Regions from separate parts of the Homo sapiens genome. Here region 1 is linked to region 2. Evidence: promoter capture Hi-C in 16 types of primary human blood cells and fetal thymus (Javierre and others, 2016). All regions are on one chromosome and are shown on one strand. The core of a region is centred on a gene start or on the middle of the fragment in contact, and the rest is flanking DNA. Distances in the headings are between cores, read along the strand shown. Region 1 overlaps NHSL2 (NHS like 2). Region 2 holds the start of IL2RG (interleukin 2 receptor subunit gamma).

Region 1 (3,850 bases), core at 819-3,318, 990 kb before region 2:
GATTACCCAGTCAGTTGGCTCATGGGGTAGTGCACAGCCATCAAGCTAGTTGTAGAGCATCTAGTTGAAGATGCCTTCACCAAGGTGCCATTTGGAGCTGTGAAGAGGCCACTACTCTGCTTGGATCCTTCTCCTGAACCTTGGACCTGGGACTCATCCAGCTCTACTCTTACCTTGCTACCAGATTCTAAATGTTCTGCAATGCATGGGACTGTCCTGTACAATGAAGAATTGTCTTACCCACAAGGGCCATGATGCCCTCGGTGAGAAACACTGCTTAGGAAGTTTATAACTGTTTGTTTAGTGCTTCAGTAGTCCTTGGCCTGGGGTGCCAGCAACGGAGGCAGAGCAAATCTGTGGGCACTTCTCTGGACTCTTCCCAGTCCCCTCTGGCCTGAAATCCCAGTGACCTTTACATCTAGGATTGGGATTGAGGGAGCGATGCATAATATGGTGAGAACCTTCCCCCACTCCCTCCACTGTGGCCACTGCAGCTATCAGTTCCAAATCCAAGCTTTCCCAGGCGTGGGACTTTGCTAGGTCAAGAGGAGCTACCTGGGCTTGATAGCTGCCACTAGGGAGGGAAAAGTTGGCAAGAAGCTGTTTTTAGTTTCCTCCAGATGTCTGCTGGCCTAGGACCCTTTGGCTCTGTCCCCCGGGAAGGAATGTTTGTCCTAGGCAGCCTCTGCTTTGCTACTGGAGCTAGGGAGTGGGTACTCCCATCTGGGGCAAGAGAATGTGCCAACTCCTACTGTGCTTTTGCGGGTTAATCATTTCCAGGTAGGAGCTGTCACGAGTCACCCTGGTGTTCACCTCCATTGCTTTCCATGAACCAGTCTAGTTTCCTAAAAATACCTGCTCCCTATTTCCCAGGCCAAAATGCTCCAGGAAATGCCTGCAGCCCACGATTGTCAGATAAGTGGCTTCTTCTGTTAGTTTGACCTGTATTCTGATGAAAGGGATTACTAATACTGCAAGAAACAATATTCTGTGACTTACAAATTATATCTGTTAAGAATAATGAATACTTATATAGGGCTATTTATTATACTTTATAGTTTATAAAGGCTACTTTATATATTAGGTTGAACCATACAAATTTGCTGGCATTTAAATGCTTTGGACAGTTTCATAGGATTCAACCTAACACATTTTCTCATTTATTCCTCACCATAATGCTGGGTAGGTATTTTTAGCCCCATTTTACAGAGTAGAGTACTAAATCTTAAGAGTGGTGAAATGACTTTTGACTAAGATTATATATACAGGAAATAGCAGGGTTGAGACTTGAACTAAGTCTGTCTGATGCCAACTCTCATGCTCTTGGTTCTCGAGGTAGGATGATTCAGCCTGGAAGACCACTGCAAGGCTTCGAGACTCCTAGACTACCCTCAGGAATCCCCTGGCTGGTTTCTCTTGTCACCTTTTCTTAGTGGGAGAGATCAGCAGGTGCATAGATGCCTGCAAATAGAAGGTTCTAAAGTGATGAGGTGACAAGTTCTAGTTTTAAGGCTTTGGGAGCCCTGAGGAGGTACAACAAAGACAATATCCAAAGCATGTTAATTCACCCATGCATTTATCCGTCCAAGAGAATGCTACTGGGTAGCTCCCATGCACGTGACAGGCTCTGCACTAGGTGCTAAGTTAGTGCAGAGCCTAGGCTGCCAACATTCAGGGAAGAGGCTTAATCAGCAGGGCTTCTACGCTTTGGCCAGCCTCAGGAGGGGGCTGAAGCAGTAGAGGCTGGGGTGAGATCACCATGTGCATGGGACTTAGATTTCCTGTGACACTGCTCTGTCTTCCTAGCCCAGGCATGATTTGGGAGGCCACAGCTTGTGTGACCAAGCAGAAAGAAGCTGGGCTGTTGCCTGGTGCTTCAGGAGTCTGATACCACTGAGAGTTTCTAGGCTGCAGGGCTGGAGGAGGCAGCAGTAGGAAGGGAAAAGGAATGCTGGTGTTCCACTCCTCGGCCTGGTAATGGGGAAGCTGGCAGGTGGGGCCGATGAAAAAGAGCTCCCTCCCAGGCAGCCACAGGAGGAAATTCCTTTCTCCTGTGCCTAGCTGCTCTGAACCCTCGGCTCCACCATGGGGTTGGGTCTTGTAGCTGGCCAGCTTGGGGAGAAAAGGCTGGGGGAGGGCTCGTTTAGAACTTAGGCAGTGGGCATGCGACCGCCACCTTTGTTTGGGGACAGCATGTTGTCCCGTGGGAGATAATCACATTTCTCAGCTTCCTGTCAATCCAGGGGCCGAGCACCCAAGCCTGCTGTGGAGTCCAAATGCTTCCCAAACCTGGCCTGACTCAGGCCAGGGCAAAACTGGCTGCTCCACCTGTCCCCAGTGCTCTCCAGCCACCTGCCTCCTCCCATTCTGCCGACACCCACCCAGACACCAAACCCCGAGCTCAAACCCTGATGCGAGTCTTCTTGCAGGATGCAATTGAGCCCATGCTTACCATTCCAGGCTCTAAGCTGTGCCGCCATGGCTGTCACCACTGCCGCCCAGGAGCACAGTGGCTCTGGGGCCACAGAGTTAAGATCTCACAGTTGAGTAAGCCACAATGTGGGTTCTTCACACCACACCCTCCCCAACCACAGTGGTAGGGATTTCCTCAGAGCCCCGTTGCCACACACTCTGCTTTTGAAAAAAAAAAAAAAAAGGAAACAGGCATTGGGTTTTGAGTGTGATGAGACGCTGTGAACAGAGATGCCTCTGAAAGCAAAGAAAGGGGAACCTGTGACAGACCTCAGATAATCACCTCGTGAGCACTCAGGCTCTTTCTATATCTCTGTGGCCATGCTACGGCTTGTGGAAAGGCCAGGGCCATTTGTACAGCAATATGCCACATAATGGCATGTAAGTTAACACAGCAGTCCCCAACCTTTTTGGCACTAGGGACTGGTTTTGTGGAAGACAATTTCTCCACGGACTTGGGTGGGGGCATGGATTCAGGATGAAACTGTTCCACCTCAGATCATCAGGCATTAGTTAGATTCTTATAAGGAGCAAGTAATTGAGATCCCTCACATGCACAGCTCACAGTAGGGTTCCTGCTCCTATGAGAATCTAATGCCGCTGCTGATCTGACAGGAGGTGGAGCTCAGGCGGTAATGCTCGCCCGCCTGCCACTCACCTCCTGCTGTGTGACCCAGTTCTTAACAGGTCATGGACTGGTACGGGTCCATGGCCCAGGGGTTGAGGACCCCTGCTTAATGGACTGCATATATGACAACTGCATATATGACAGTGGCCCCATTAGATGATACCATAGTTTTGCTCTATCTTTTCTAGGTTTAGTTATGTTTAGATACACAGATAAGTACCATCGTGTTACAACTGCCTGTAGTATTCAGCACAGTCACGTGCTGTATGGGTTTGTAGCCTTGGAGCCATAGGCTGTACCATATAGCCTAGGTGTGCAGCAGGCTACACTATCTAGGTCTGTGTAAGTACACTCTATGATGTTTGCACAATGAGGAAATCACCTAATGACGCATTTCTCTCGTAGCGTATCCCCATTGTGAAGCGAGGCCTGACTGTACTTGGCTCGGCTGTTCTGGTCTGCACTCAACCAGCATACGTTGAATTTATTGGAGTCCACAAACCAAGACCCTGAGAAGCTTCATGAGTTGCCTTGAGTGGTGAAGTTGAGGATTTTGTCCTCAATGTCTGACCTTCTAATCCATTCCTACCAACCACAGAGACACACAGCTCAGGTGACATTTTGAATCTCTCTGCCTGCTCAACTTCCACTGTTCAATACGGTAGCCAGAAGCCACATGTGGCTCTTAAGCTCTTGAAATTGGCAGTCTGAACTGAAATGTGCTGGATGTGTAAAACATACACCAGATTT
Region 2 (3,543 bases), core at 1,044-3,543:
AGAAAGGAAATGCGTATGACATATCCAGTGTGGCTGGAATTGATCATTGGAGCTTGGGCTTTATTCTGAAGGCCATGAGTAGCTTTTGAAGACTTTTAAATTGGAGAATGCCCTCTGTAGTGGGTTGAATGTGGCCTCCAAAAAGATATGTTCACTTGGAACCTGTGGATGTCACCTTCTTTGACAAAAGGCTTTTAGCAGCTGTAATTAAGGCAAAGCTCCTAGGAGAGAACACCCTGGATTAGGGTGGGCCATAAATCCAATGACAGGTGTCCCTGTAAGAGAAGAGAAGGATAAAGGAGATGCAGAGAAGAAGAAGAGGTAATGCAAAGATGGAGGCAGAGATTGGAATGATGTGTCTACAAGCCAAGGAGCACCAAGGATCGACGGCAGCCACCAGAAGCTAGAAGAGAGGCATGGAACAACTTCTTCCTCAGCGCCTCCAGAAGGGACCAACCCTGGCCACACTGATTTCGGACTTCTGGGCTCCAGAACTGTGAGAAAATAAATGCCTTTTTTTCCTTTTTAAAAAATTTTTATTTATTTATTTATTTATTTATTTGAGATGGAGTCTCACTCTGTTGCACAGGCTAGAGTGCAGTGGCGCAATTTTGGCTCACTGCAACCTCTGCCTCCTAGATTCAAGCGATTCTCATGTTTCAGCCTCCCGAGTAGCTGGGATTACAGGTGTTGCCACCATGTCTGGCTAATTTTTGTATTTTTAGTAGAGACGGGGTTTCACCAGGTTGGCCAGGCTGGTCTCGAACTCCTCAAGCAATCCACCTGCCTTGGCCTCCCAAAGTGCTGGGATTGCAGGCGTGAGTCACTGCACCCAGCCGAGAGAATAAATTTCTGTTGGTTTAAGCCACTCAGTTTGGGGATAACTTATGGCAGCCCTAGCAAACTAATACATACTAAAGATACATACTAAATACTAAGCTGGGCCATATAGTCCAGTTTTCCTGAGACTCCCAGGCAAGTGCTGTTTTTCTTTGCTTAATATCCTACACCACTTTCTGTCTGGTAAAATTACACTCATTCTTTAAGATGCCACTGAAATAGCACCTCTTCAGCACAGCCTTCACTAAACTATCCCCCTCTCCATCTTGGTAAATTTAGTTACTTCCTCTTCTGTGCTCACATACTTTGTAGTATCTCTACATTTATGCTATAGGACTTGTTACACTATGTTGTATTACTTGTTTATGTCTTCCCCACTTTTCTGTGAGTGTCTAGAAATATGAGGATGTCTTGTTGGTCTATTTCCAGAACATAAGCACAGTGCCTGGCACATATTAAAAACGTAATAAATGTTTGCTGAATAAATAGTTTCTGTAAGTGGCTTCTCCAATCACCTCTGTGTTTTCGGGGAAGGTAAAACTGGCAACAGGATGAAGAATGGATTAGAGAGCAGAGGGCCTTTAGAAAGGGAGGCCAGTTGATGGAGTCTAGATAGAATCATGACTAGAGCTAATGAAAGACTGATTTAGCAGAGTGGCTGTGGTAATGGAAAGGAGGAAACCGTTGGGAGAAACACCACAGAAGCAGAGTGGGTTATATTCTCTGGGTGAGAGAGGGGGAGAAATTGAAGCTGATTCTGAGGTTTCAAGTCTGGGTGACTGAGAGGGTGACGATACCATTGACTGAGGTGGGGAAGGCAGGAAGAGAAGCAGAGTTGGGGGAAGATGGGAAGCTTGAAGCTAGTATTGTTGTTCCTCCATTTCTAGAATATTTTTGTATTATAAGTCACACTTCCTCGCCAGTCTCAACAGGGACCCAGCTCAGGCAGCAGCTAAGGGTGGGTATTCTGGTTTGGATTAGATCAGAGGAAAGACAGCTGTATATGTGCCCACAGGAGCCAAGACGGTATTTTCCATCCTCCCAAAACAGTAGAGCTTTGACAGAGATTTAAGGGTGACCAAGTCAAGGAAGAGGCATGGCATAGAACGGTGATGTCGGGGGTGGGGGTTCAGAACTTCCATTATAGAAGGTAATGATTTAGAGGAGAAGGTGGTTGAGAATGGTGCTAGTGGTAGTGAACAGATCCTTCCCAGGATCTAGGTGGGCTGAGGATTTTTGAGTCTGTGACACTATTGTATATCCAGCTTTAGTTTCTGTTTACCACCTTACAGCAGCACCTAATCTCCTAGAGGACTTAGCCCGTGTCACACAGCACATATTTGCCACACCCTCTGTAAAGCCCTGGTTTATAAGGTTCTTTCCACCGGAAGCTATGACAGAGGAAACGTGTGGGTGGGGAGGGGTAGTGGGTGAGGGACCCAGGTTCCTGACACAGACAGACTACACCCAGGGAATGAAGAGCAAGCGCCATGTTGAAGCCATCATTACCATTCACATCCCTCTTATTCCTGCAGCTGCCCCTGCTGGGAGTGGGGCTGAACACGACAATTCTGACGCCCAATGGGAATGAAGACACCACAGCTGGTGGGAAATCTGGGACTGGAGGGGGCTGGTGAGAAGGGTGGCTGTGGGAAGGGGCCGTACAGAGATCTGGTGCCTGCCACTGGCCATTACAATCATGTGGGCAGAATTGAAAAGTGGAGTGGGAAGGGCAAGGGGGAGGGTTCCCTGCCTCACGCTACTTCTTCTTTCTTTCTTGTTTGTTTGTTTCTTTCTTTCTTTTGAGGCAGGGTCTCACTATGTTGCCTAGGCTGGTCTCAAACTCCTGGCCTCTAGTGATCCTCCTGCCTCAGCCTTTCAAAGCACCAGGATTACAGACATGAGCCACCGTGCTTGGCCTCCTCCTTCTGACCATCATTTCTCTTTCCCTCCCTGCCTTCATTTTCTCCCCAATCTAGATTTCTTCCTGACCACTATGCCCACTGACTCCCTCAGTGTTTCCACTCTGCCCCTCCCAGAGGTTCAGTGTTTTGTGTTCAATGTCGAGTACATGAATTGCACTTGGAACAGCAGCTCTGAGCCCCAGCCTACCAACCTCACTCTGCATTATTGGTATGAGAAGGGACGAGGGGGAGGGGATGAAGAAGAGGTGGGTTGGATCAGAGACCAAGAGAGAGGGTAGCAAGTCTCCCAGGTACCCCACTGTTTTCTCCTGGGGTAAGTCATAAGTCGGTTGAGGGGAGATGAGGCTAGGCTCTGGATATCTGCAGTACCCAGATTGGCCCCACTGTTCCTCTTCCTTCCAACCTTTCTCCTCTAGGTACAAGAACTCGGATAATGATAAAGTCCAGAAGTGCAGCCACTATCTATTCTCTGAAGAAATCACTTCTGGCTGTCAGTTGCAAAAAAAGGAGATCCACCTCTACCAAACATTTGTTGTTCAGCTCCAGGACCCACGGGAACCCAGGAGACAGGCCACACAGATGCTAAAACTGCAGAATCTGGGTAATTTGGAAAGAAAGGGTCAAGAGACCAGGGATACTGTGGGACATTGGAGTCTACAGAGTAGTGTTCTTTTATCATAAGGGTACATGGGCAGAAAAGAGGAGGTAGGGGATCATGATGGGAAGGGAGGAGGTATTAGGGGCACTACCTTCAGGATCCTGACTTGTCTAGGCCAGG

Evidence for each region. Contacts are between HindIII fragments. The CHiCAGO score rates a contact against its expected background, and 5 or more counts as called.
Region 1: a fragment that was not itself captured here is called in contact with the fragment with the promoter of IL2RG in region 2 in 1 of 17 cell types (total CD4 T cells); the score reaches 5.0 in total CD4 T cells.

The regions. Positions count from the first base shown.
Region 1 is chrX:72,099,845-72,103,694 of GRCh38, reverse strand. All of the region lies in intron 1 of NHSL2 (NHS like 2), which reads right to left. Among named protein-coding and RNA genes, the nearest start is that of RTL5, 30 kb to the left of the region's middle. RefSeq lists a silencer at 2,459-2,578. The HindIII fragment of the contact is 3,103 bases long and covers 517-3,619 here.
Region 2 is chrX:71,110,327-71,113,869 of GRCh38, reverse strand. IL2RG (interleukin 2 receptor subunit gamma) reads left to right here and starts at 2,293. Exons shown (of 8, transcript NM_000206.3): 1 at 2,293-2,445; 2 at 2,820-2,973; 3 at 3,182-3,366. The coding sequence starts at 2,331. RefSeq lists enhancers at 2,141-2,530, 1,633-2,832. The HindIII fragment of the contact is 3,788 bases long and covers 1,696-3,543 here.